Linked DNA regions of Homo sapiens: regions 2, 3 and 4 are each linked to region 1. The links are contacts of gene promoters, found by promoter capture Hi-C in blood cells and fetal thymus (Javierre and others, 2016). All regions are on one chromosome and are shown on one strand. The core of a region is centred on a gene start or on the middle of the fragment in contact, and the rest is flanking DNA. Distances in the headings are between cores, read along the strand shown. Region 1 holds the start of PPP6R1 (protein phosphatase 6 regulatory subunit 1). Region 2 has its middle 9.9 kb from the start of ZNF579. Region 3 has its middle 7.3 kb from the start of ZNF579. Region 4 overlaps SSC5D (scavenger receptor cysteine rich family member with 5 domains).

Region 1 (2,738 bases), core at 22-2,521:
TGCCTTTGTACCCCCTCCAGGGACCGGCCCCACCTCCAGGGCAGGGCCTAGGGCTGATGCCCCCTCCTCGGTGCCCAGCGCCAGGCTCCCTGCCTGCCCTCAGCAGGCTTCATCTCACTGAAGCAGGCCCGAGTGGTGGCTGCTCCAGAGAAGCCCCGCTCCCAGGTCCCTCGCACAAGAAGCCGGAGGCGGGAGAGGGTCGGTCAAGGTGAAAACAAGCCCCGCTCCTCCAGTCCTGAGCTCCGGGGATCTAAGGAGGCTGCGCCACGGAAGAGGTGGCGGGGCAGAGATCGGGGCGAGAGGGAAGGGTGTAAGCAGGCAAAGTCCAGGGTAACCAGGGAGAAAGACTCCTGGGGGGCCGGGGAACCGGCCAGAGAGGCAAGAGAGCGGAGCTGAGGCTCAGGGACTGGGGAGCGCAGCTGCAGAGAGCGAGTGGGAAAAGGCCGAGAGCAAGAGACTGAGACTAGGGTGGCGGCGGAGCTGAGGTGAAGAGATTAAGAGACTGGGGAGGGTCGAGGGGGAAGAAACGGGGTGCCGTGGAGAGGAAACCCGAAGGAAGGAGGGAAAGGATCCGAAGCAGAAAAGACCCGCGGGGGTCCCGAGAGGGAAAAGCCTGAGGGGACGCGGAGAGGGGAAGACGTGGGCGCCTGGCCCTGGAGAGAGAGGGTCGGGCGACGCGGGCCGCTCACCTGCGAGGGGGGGCGGCGGCTCCTCGCACTCGGGGCTCATCGGGGCGCCCCCCCCCGCCCCGCCGCCGGCGGCTCCGGCCCCTGCTGCGGGGCCCGGTGAGTGGGGGCGGGGGCGGCGTCGGGGACTCGCGCAGGCGCCGGGGCTCGCGGGGTCCGCGCAGGCGCCCGCGGGTCGTGGGGTCCTCGCGCGCCGGGTCCTGCAGAGTTGAGGGGGTCAGCGCCGGGTGGAGTTGCCGACGGGCGGGGGGCGTCACTAGTCCGCGTAGGCACCTCCGGGGTCCGCAGGCGAGGTGGGCGTGCGGGCCGAGGCGGGTTGGCGAGCCGGGTCGCGAGGCCCACGCAGGCGCCTCAGCCGGGAAGACGGGGGAAGTTGCCCCGGTTTCCACAGTCCAACCGAGCGCCCCACGGGAGGGGAAGGCGACCTCCTCCGCGGTCCAAACGGGCCGCAGAGCCGAGCAGCGACCGACGGAAGCCGAGGCCTACTTCCTTAACCACCCCTTCCCCAAAGCCGCTCAATCTCCGGGCTCTGCGGCCGGCCTCAGGGCCTCCGACGCCCGGCTCCCTCCGCCACTATCCCACAATCCCCCTAGCGCAGGACGACGCAGGAGGCCCCGCCCTCCCGCGGCTGTGTTGGTGCGCAGGTGCGGGGGGCGGGGTGCACGCCTGGGCGGTGCAGTGCGCGTGCGCCCGGGCGCTCCCGACACCGCCCACTCTTGAACCCCGCCGCCGCAGACGCGCTTGCGCCCGTTGGTGCCAACGGTCTGCCCCGGAATAAACCCAGACAGCTCAGTGAGCCGCAGCTGCGCACCGGCTCCGTTCCAAGGCCCCGTGAATATTCCGCTCCAGGATTTCCCTTCCCACTCGCTCCGTTTGGAAATCCGTTCGCTGTTCTGTCTCCTCTAATCATAGTGGAGCTTTGGCTCCAGGGTCGGGCTCTTGCGAAATCCAGACCTGGTTTTCGCTCCAGCCAAAGCCAGGCGCCTTCGTTCCGTCCGGCTCTCGCGCTTAGCCGCCTCCGAGCCTCAGAGGCCCTCAGTCGTTTCCGTCTGCTGGCGATAGTCCCGGCCGGGTCGCTGGTGTTGCCAGTTCCGCCCAAAGCAGCTTCTAATAGCATCAACTGAAAGAGACCTCCTAGACCTTGTGTCTAGATTGATGAAGGTCCCTCTGGCTTTGAGCCTCGGTTTCCCCAACTTTAATAGCTCCCCTCTCTACCCATGTTAGAGGCCTACTGTAAAAATCGTGTGGGCGCGAGGAACTTTTTTGTTTTTGTTTTTGTTTTAAGACTCCGAATTGGCCGGGCGCGGTGGCTTACGCTTGTAATCACAACACTTTAGGAGGCCCGAGGCCGGAGGATGGCATGAGACCAGGAGTTGGAGACCAGCCTGGGCAACCTAGGGAGACCCCCGTCTCTACAAAAGAAAATTTAAAAAATTAGTTGGGCCTGGTGGCCCGCGCCTGTGGTCTCAGCTATTCGGGAGGCTAAGGCAGGAGAATCGCTTGAGCCGAGGCTGCAGTGAGCCGGATTGCACCACTGCACTCCATCCTAGGAGACAGAGCGAGAACCTGTCTCAAAAACAAAGGGCCCAGCGTGGTGGCTCACGCCTGCCTGTACTTGAGCTCAGGAGTTCAAGACCCCACGCCTATAATCCCAGCACTTTGGGAGGCCGAGGTGGGCGGATTGCCTGAGCTCAGGAGTTTGAGACCAGCCTGGGCAACACAGTGAAACCACGTGTCTACTAAAATACAAAAAATAGCCGGACGTGGCGGTGTGCGCCTGTAATCCCAGCTACTCAGGAGGCTGAGGCAGGAGAATTACTTGAACCCGGGAGGTGGATGTTGCAGTGAGCCCAGATCAGGCCACTGCACTCCAGCCTGGGTGACAGAGCGAGACTCCGTCTCGAGAAAAAAAAAAAAAAAAAAAAAGAGCAAATTCACCCCTCCTTTGCCCTCTTTGTTCTATTGAGACCCTCAATGGATTGGATAATGCCAGCTCACACTGGGGAGGGAAGATCTTTATTCAGTCTACCGATTCAAATGCTAGTCTCTTCC
Region 2 (2,700 bases), core at 118-2,617, 310 kb after region 1:
CTGGCACTTTCTTAAAAAGTGAATCACACACTTCCCACACAGCCTAGCAATTCTGCTCCTAGAAATCTGCCCCAAAGAAATGAAAACATATGCCCACACAAAGACCTGTTGCTGGGCGCAGTGGCTCAGGCCTATAATCCCAGCACTTTGGGAGGCTGAGGCAGGTGGATCACCAGAGGTCAGGAGTTTGAGACTAGCGTGGCCAACATGGTGAAACCCCGTCTCCACTAAAAATGCAAAAATTAGCTGGGTGTGGTGGTGTGCCCCTGTAATCCCTGCTACTCGGGAGGCTGAGGTGGGAGAGTTGCTTGAACCTCAGAGGCAGAGGCTGCAGTGAGCCGAGACTGCACACCACTGCACTCCAGCCTGGGCAACAGAGCAAGATCCCGTCAAAAAAAAAAAAAAAGAAAAAAAACAAAGGCCGGGCATGGTGGCTCATGCCTGTAATCCCAGCACTTTTTGGAGGACGAGGCAGGCAGATCATGAGGTCAAGAGATTGAGACCATCCTGGCTGACAGGGTGAAACCCTGTCTCTACTAAAAATACAAAAATTAGCTGGGTGTGGTGGCTGGTGCCTGCAGTCCCAGCTACTCAGGAGGCTGAGGCAGGAGAATGGCATGAACCCGGGAGGCGGAGCTTGCAGTGAGCAGAGATCATGCCACTGCACTCCAGCCTGGGCAACAGAGCGAGACTCCGTCTCTAAACAAAAAAAAAAGACTTGTACATGCATGTTCACAGCAGCATTACTTAAACAGCCAAAGAGTAGAAACAATACAAACACCCATCAACGGATGAGAGGATAAACAATGTGTGGTGTATCCATACAGTGGAATATTATTCAGCTGTAAAAAAGGAATGAAGAGGGTGGGTGCAATGGCTCATGCCTTTGATCCCAGCAGTTTGGGAGATCAAGGTGGGAGGATTGCTTGAGCCTAGGAGTTGAAGATCAGCTCGGGCAACATAGTGAGACCCCCATCTCTACAAGAAATAAAAATATTATCCAGGTGTCATGATGCACCCTGTGGTCCCAGCTGCTCAGGAAACTGGGGAGAGATGGATCACTTGAGGTTGAGGCTGCAGTGAGCCATGATAGCACCACTGGACTCTAGCCTGGGCAACAAAGTGAGGCCTTCTCTCAATAACAGCAACAACAACAACTAAAAAGCAATTAAGTACTGAACTGACACAATTTACAATGTGAATAGACCTTGAAGACATTATGCTAAGAGGAGGAAGGCAGTCACCAAAGCTACATATGGCATATTCCATTTATATGAAATGTCTAGAATAGGTTCATCCATAGAGACAAAATAGATTCGTGGTTGCCCAGAGCTGAGGGTGGGAATGGAAAATGACTATTAACAGGCACAGAATGTCTTTTTGAGGTGATCAAAATATTCTTTTTAAAATTTTTAATTAATTCATCAATTTATTTATTATTATTATTATTTTTTAGAGACAGGATCTTGTTCTGTGGCCTTGGCTGGAGTTCAGTGGTGTGATCATAGCTCACTGCAGCCTTCAACTCATATAGCTCACTGCAGCCTTCAACTCCTGGGCTCAAGACACCCTCCCACCTCCGTCTCCCAAGTAGCTGGGATTACAGGCACTTGCCACCACAGCCAGCTAATTTTTGTTCAATGTTTTGTAGCGACAGGGTCTTGCTTTGTTGTCCAGGCTGGTCTCAAACTCTTGGCTCCAAGTGCTCCTGCCGCCTCAGCTTCCCAAAGTGCTGGGATTACAGACCTGAGCCACCACACCCAGCCTGGAAATATTCTAAAATTGGATTGTGGTGATAGAGGCACAACTCTGTACATTTATTAAAAATTATCAAATTACGCCTGTAATCCCAGCACTTTGGGAGGCCGAGGTGGGTAGATCATGAGGTCAGGTGTTCAAGACCAGCCTGGCCAACATGGTGAAACCCCGTTCATACTAAAAATACAAAAAAAAATTAGTGAGGCGTAGTGGCAGGCACCTGTAATCCCAGCTACTTGGGTGGCTAAGGCAGAGAATTGCTTGAACCCAGGAGGCGGAGGTTGCAGTGAACCGAGATCAAGCCACTGCACTTGAGCCTGGGCAACAGAGTGAGACTCTGTCTAAAAAAAAAAAAAAAATTATCGAATTGTACGACCAAATGGATGAAGTCTATATGTAAATGGTACCTCAGTAAAGCTGTTTATGAAAAGGCAAAACGAAAACAGAGCCAATAATAGTATCTATTTTATGTGGCTGTTGTGAGGATTAAATGGGCTAATCTACGTAGTACCCTTGAAGCAGACATAGGGTGAATACTCAAGAAGTGGGTTCCTATTATTAACAAATGTGGTTGCAGGCTGGGCACGGTGGCTCACGCCTGTAATCCCAGCACTTTGGGAGGCCAAGGCGGGTGGATCACCTGAGGTCGGGAGTTCGAGACCAGCCTGACCAATATGGAGAAACCTTGTCTCTACTAAAAATACAAAATTAGCCGGGCATGGTGGTGCATGCCTGTAACCCCAGCTACTCGGGAGGCTGAGGCTGGAGAAGCACTTGAACCCAGGAGGCGGAGGTTGCGGTGAGCCGAGATCGTGCCATTGCACTCCAGCCTGGGCAACAAGAGTGAACTCCGTCTCAAAAAACAAACAAACAAGCAAAAACAAACAAATGTGGTTGCGATCGTACGTGTAAAGTGTTCAGCAAGTGAAAGACAAATGGCAG
Region 3 (2,700 bases), core at 162-2,661, 330 kb after region 1:
GCCTTTAATTTTCAACATGGTACTTATCACGAACACACACTAGGCAATGTGTGAATGTCCCATGGATTCCCTATCTCCCCTGCCACTAGAATAAAAACTCCACAAGGGAAGGGGCTTGTTTTGCCTGTTTAACGGCTCTGCCCACAGGTGGCTGCCCGGGACAGACAAGGGGCTTAACAAGCATTTGTGGATGAATAAAAAGGGATGAAGGGTGGGAGGAGTGAGGCTGTTCCTGAAAGGAAGAAGGCTCGGGGGCCCGGGGGAGACTCCCGCTCAGGCAAGCGTGCAGGACGCTGGCTGGCTCCAAGGTCTGCACGCAGGAATCAGCTCGCCAAACACAGGCGTGTGAGTCGCCGGCGTCTGGCTAGTAATTAATGTTTTGCAACGGTTGAGATCGTCCTCAGGGTAAAATTCCCGCTCCTGTCCTCTCCTCGCTTCCCACCCCCCCTCCAACCTCAATCAGCGTATCTATAAAATGGGGCCGCTATGTGACGCGTTGGGTGCAGTGTCCAGTCCAGCACCGGGCGCTTGTGAGACACGGAGGAAATGGGATGGGTCCTTCTCGTTACCGCCCCAGAAGAGAAAGGACTGTGGTGCAGGTGAGGTGGGTGGGAACCTCAGCCTCGCGAGGTCCCTATTCATTACTCCCTGGCCGGCGGCCATCTCCATGGCAACGCTGGCGCCTTTCCAGTGCGCAGCTCCGGGGCTCAGCCTGTCTCTAAGCCGGTCTCGGAGTGGGCGGGTCTTGTCCCTGGGGGCGGTGCCTGCTTCGAAGTGGGCGGGCCTTGTTTCTCGAAAGAAGATACTTTTTTTCTCAAACCAGAAAGCATGTCTGGTTTTTGAGTGGCGGTTGCAGAGTGGAGAGGAATATCTCTAAGATTTAGCTGATTTTATTCCCAAAGGTTGAGCTTTTTCAAACAGGCAACAGTGGATCTCCATTCAAAAAGTCTCCCTTGAGTGCTAAACTCTTACTTGTTTTCTCCTCCCAGAATATGTCTTCCTCCTTTAAATTTTCCTTTCTTTTTCTTTCTTTTTTAATTTATATTTTAAATTTTAATTAATTAATTTATTTTTTCAGACGGACGTCTCGCTCTGTCACCCGGGCTGGAGTGCAGTGGCATGTTCTTGGGTCACTGCAACCTCTGCCTTCTAGGTTCAAGCGATTCTCCCGCCTCAGTCTCTCGAGTAGCTGGGATTACAGGCGTGCACCACCATGCCCAGCTAATTTTCGTATTTTTAGTAGAGACGGCATTTCACCATATTGCCCAGGGTGGTCCTGAACTCAAGTGATCCGCCTGCCTCAGCCTCCAAAAGTGCTGGGATTACAGGCGTGAGCCAACACGTTCGGAATTATTTTTTATTTTTGAGACGGGGTCGCACTCTGTCGCCCAGGCTGGAGTGCAGTGGTGCGATCATAGCTCACTGCAACCTCGACCTCCTGAGCTCAAGTGATCCTCTCAGCTCAGCCTCCCAAGTAACTGGGACTACAGGCGTGCACCACCATGCCGGTTTTTTGTTTGTTTGTTTGTTTTGTTTTTGGTAGAGACAGGATCTCACTATGTTGCCTAGGCTGGTCTCGAACTCCTGAGCTCAAGCCATCCTCCTGCCTCAGCCTCTGAAATTGCTGGGATTACAGACATGAGTCAACTCGCCCAGCCTAAAATATCTTCTTTGTGAAATATAAGACACACAGAGAAAAAATGCACAATACAAACACACAATTGAATAAATAATTATAAAATGATCGTCCGATTAAGAACTAGAACTTTGTCGGCTATCAGCAACCGTGGAAACTTCCAGGATATCCCCTCCCGCTTAACTTGTCCAGTCCACTATTCTGAGTTTTATAGGACATTGTTGTCCTTGCTTTTTTATATGGTTTACTACTGACAATGTATCCTTAACAATATTACAGTTTAGTTTTATGTGCATTATAATGGGTTTGCTTTTTTTTTTTTTTTTTTTTTGGAGACAGGGTCTCCCTCTGTTGGCCAGGCTGGAATGCAGTGGAATGATCTTAGCTCACTGCAACCTCCGTCCCCCTACCCCAGGCTCCAGCGATCCTCCTGTCTCAGCCCCCCGAGTAGCTGGGCCTACAGGCACACGCCACCACACCTGGCTATTTTTTGTATTTTTACTCGAGACGGGGTCTTGCCATGTTGCCCAGGCTGATCTCGAACTCCTGGACTCAAGCAATCCTCCTGCCTTGGCCTTCCAAAGTGCTGGGACTATAGGCGTGAGCCACTGCACCTGGCCTCAATGTTATGTAAATGAAATCATGCTCTGTTTCTGGCTTTTTGGGTCCTGTATCTTTGTAACTTTCATTCATGATACTGTGTTTATCTGCAGCTCATTCATTCTTGTTGCCGTATAGTATTCCACTGCATAATATGCCATCGCTAATTATCCACTGTATTGCTGATGGGCGTTTTGGTTGTCCTGAGTTTGGGGTTGAAAGTATTGCTGCTATGAATGTTTTTGTATGTCTCTGGGTGCAGGGGGACTTGAGTTAGCATTTACGCCTAGCAGTAGAATTCCTGCATCACAGGATATATGTATGTTCAATATTTGAGAATGGCAACCTGTGGGGCATTTAATTTAAGAAACTCAGCAGGGTGCAGTGGCTCACACCTGTAATCCCAGCACTTTGGGAGGCCGAGGCGGGCAGATCGATCACCTGAGGTCAGGAGTTCGAGACCA
Region 4 (2,700 bases), core at 178-2,677, 260 kb after region 1:
GTGGTTCAATACGGTAGCTAAGAGCACCGGGCATGGTGGCTCACGCCTGAAATTCCAGCACTTTGGGAGGCTGAGGCAGGCAGATCACCTGAGGTCGGGGGTTCAAGACTAGCCTGAACAACATAGTGAAACCCCATCTCTACTAAAAATACAAAAAAATTAGCTGGGCATGGTGGCACATGCCTGTCATCCCAGCTACTCAGGAAGTGGACACAGGAGAATCACTTGAACCCAGGAGGCGGAGATTGCAGCGAGCCAAGATCGCGCCACTGCACTCCAGCCTGGGCAACAGGAGTGAAACTCCGTCTCAAAAAAAAAAAAAAAAAAAAAGTTAAATGAATTAACACTTTGAAAATGAAACATTTGCCGGGCGCAGTGGCCACGCCTGTAATCCCAGCACTTTGGGAGGCCGAAGCGGGCGGATCACGAGGTCAGGAGATCGCGACCGTCCTGGCTAACACAGTGAAACCCCATCTCTACTAAAAATACAAAAAATTAGCAGGACATGGTGGCGAGCGCCTGTAGTCCCAGCTTCTCGGGAGGCTGAGGCAGGAGAATGGCATGAACCTGGGAGGCAAAGCTGGCAGTGAGGCGAGATCGTGCCACTGCACTCTAACCTGGGCGACAGAGTGAGACTCCGTCTCAAAAAAAAAAATAAAATAAAATAAAAGAAAATGAAACATTTAGTTTCTCATTCACACTGGCCGCATTTCAAGGGCTTGGTAGCCACATGTGGCCAGTGGCTACTGTATTGGCACGGTAGATCACAGCGCATTCCCATCACTGCAGATGTGAGATTTCATTGCCTAGACTCTATGTGCAAACAACTTGGGTTCAAGTCTTAGCCCTGCAACTTGCAAACTATGTCTGTGTGACCTTGGGCGAGTCACCTGCCCTCTTGCCCTAATTTCCCCCTTCTGTAAAATGGGGATAAAATTGGCACTCACTTGGAAGACAGCCCCAGAAGAGGGTCAGGCTCCTCCTGCTACTCAGGCCCAAAATTTAAGGGGGTGCCCAAAACGCCAAAATCAAGATACATAATATCATAATACAGTATTTTTTAAAATGAAAATTAATGCCAAAAAAAAAAAAACCCATGATGAACTCGGTATCAAAAATGTAACTGAAGGCCGGGCGCGATGGCTCATGCCTGTAATCCCAGCACTTTGGGAGGCCCAGGCGGGCGGATCACGAGGTCAGGAGATCGAGACCATCCTGGCCAACACGGTGAAACCCCGTCTCTACTAAAAATACAAAAAATTAGCCTGGTGTGGTGGCGGGCGCCTGTAGTCCCAGCTACTCGGGAGGCTGAGGCAGGAGAATGGTGTGAACCCGGGAGGCGGAGCTTGCAGTGAGCCGAGATCACGCCACTGCACTCCAGCCTGGGCGACAGAGCGAGACTCCATCTCAAAAAAAAAAAAAAAGTCACTGAAGACAGGATCCTATCCGCCTCGCTGGGCTCCCCCTAATCCTGGCCCTGTTGGATCCCGTCTTTGGTTAAAATGTTAACTTTGGTTAACTGTGGATCTTTTGGATTAATTTTGATTGTTTAAAAATATTGCATAAAAACGCTTGAGCCCAGGAGTTCGAGGTTACAGTGAGCTATGATCTTGCCACCGCACTCCAGCTTGGGCGACACAGCCAGACTTTATCTTAAAAAATAAAAAAATCCATAAAAGTATTTATTTTGATTACTAACATTACCCTTCGGAGCCCTCTTTGGTCTCCCTGCCTCCCCTGGCTCCGCACATCTCCCAGTCCCCCGCTGGCTCAGAATCCTCCCGTATGCTGCACGCTTCTGAGCACTCCCGCCCCCTCCCGCACCCCAGCACCCCACGCATCCCTCCCTCACCTCACCCTCCTGCACCCGCTCCCGCAACCCGCGTGCCCCTCGGCATCCCCGAGTCCGGAGCATCCCCGCATCCTCCCGCAGTGGAGGACGCCAGGTGGCGCCTGGAGCCATCGGAGGACGTAGGGAGGAGGGGCCCTAGGGCCGGGTGAAGTCTGCCGGTGACCCATGACGTCTCGAGGCTCTGTGCCTTTCCATTGGTCGGCTCCTCGAGGGGCGGGGCGGGACGCGTGGTGGGCGGAGCCGGTTGACCTCAGACCGTCCGTCTGTCTTTCCTCCTCCTCCAGGTTCCCCGAGGAAACCGTGGCCCGAGCGCCGGCCACCGCGGCCCGCTGCGACCAGGACAGCGCCCCCAACCCCGTCCCCAGGTCCCTCCGCCTCTCCGGGACCCCCAGGCCCAGCGCTGACCTCTGACTCCAGTCGAGAGCTCACTCCCCACTCAGCCTTGACGTCCGAGGCGACCTCTGACGCTCCGGACACTTCACCACCCACCCCAGACCCGGCCTCCCGGACGAACCCCGACCTCATCTTGACAAGCCCTGACTTTGCTTTGTCCACCCCTGACTCCAGTGTGGTTCCCGCGTTGACCCCGGAGCCCTCACCCACGCCCTTACCCACCTTGCCCAAAGAGCTGACCTCTGACCCTTCTACACCGTCGGAGGTGACCAGCCTTTCCCCTACCTCAGAGCAGGTCCCAGAATCTGACACAACCCCAGATTTGGACACAACTCCATACTCCAGTACAGTCTCAGAATATTCTAGATCCCCAGACCCCTCCCCAAGCCCTCACCCCACTACTACCCCTGATCCCACCATGGCCCCTGACCCCATCACAACCCTTAACCCTACTG

Evidence for each region. The method cuts DNA at HindIII sites, captures the fragments that hold promoters and counts their contacts. A CHiCAGO score of 5 or more calls a contact.
Region 2: a contact is called between a fragment that was not itself captured here and the fragment with the promoter of PPP6R1 in region 1, in 1 of 17 cell types (erythroblasts). The highest score is 6.0, in erythroblasts.
Region 3: a contact is called between a fragment that was not itself captured here and the fragment with the promoter of PPP6R1 in region 1, in 2 of 17 cell types (fetal thymus and non-activated CD4 T cells). The highest score is 6.6, in fetal thymus.
Region 4: a fragment that was not itself captured here is called in contact with the fragment with the promoter of PPP6R1 in region 1 in 8 of 17 cell types (fetal thymus, naive CD8 T cells, non-activated CD4 T cells and 5 more); the score reaches 6.5 in fetal thymus.

Annotation. Positions count from the first base shown.
Region 1 is chr19:55,257,746-55,260,483 of GRCh38, forward strand. It overlaps PPP6R1 (protein phosphatase 6 regulatory subunit 1), which reads right to left and starts at 1,272. Exons shown (of 24, transcript NM_014931.4): 1 at 690-1,272. RefSeq lists enhancers at 520-1,494, 1,500-1,699, 1,730-1,779, 1,860-1,909 and silencers at 730-789, 960-1,059, 1,190-1,469, 1,376-1,670. The HindIII fragment of the contact is 27,894 bases long and covers 1-2,738 here.
Region 2 is chr19:55,569,579-55,572,278 of GRCh38, forward strand. No RefSeq gene overlaps it. Among named protein-coding and RNA genes, the nearest start is that of ZNF579, 9.9 kb to the right of the region's middle. The HindIII fragment of the contact is 6,950 bases long and covers 1-2,700 here.
Region 3 is chr19:55,586,772-55,589,471 of GRCh38, forward strand. No RefSeq gene overlaps it. Among named protein-coding and RNA genes, the nearest start is that of ZNF579, 7.3 kb to the left of the region's middle. RefSeq lists a silencer at 591-640. The HindIII fragment of the contact is 6,157 bases long and covers 1-2,700 here.
Region 4 is chr19:55,515,088-55,517,787 of GRCh38, forward strand. It overlaps SSC5D (scavenger receptor cysteine rich family member with 5 domains), which reads left to right. Exons shown (of 14, transcript NM_001144950.2): 14 at 2,137-2,700. Among named protein-coding and RNA genes, the nearest start is that of SBK2, 21 kb to the right of the region's middle. RefSeq lists an enhancer at 1,819-2,320 and silencers at 1,840-1,999, 2,130-2,309. The HindIII fragment of the contact is 6,972 bases long and covers 1-2,700 here.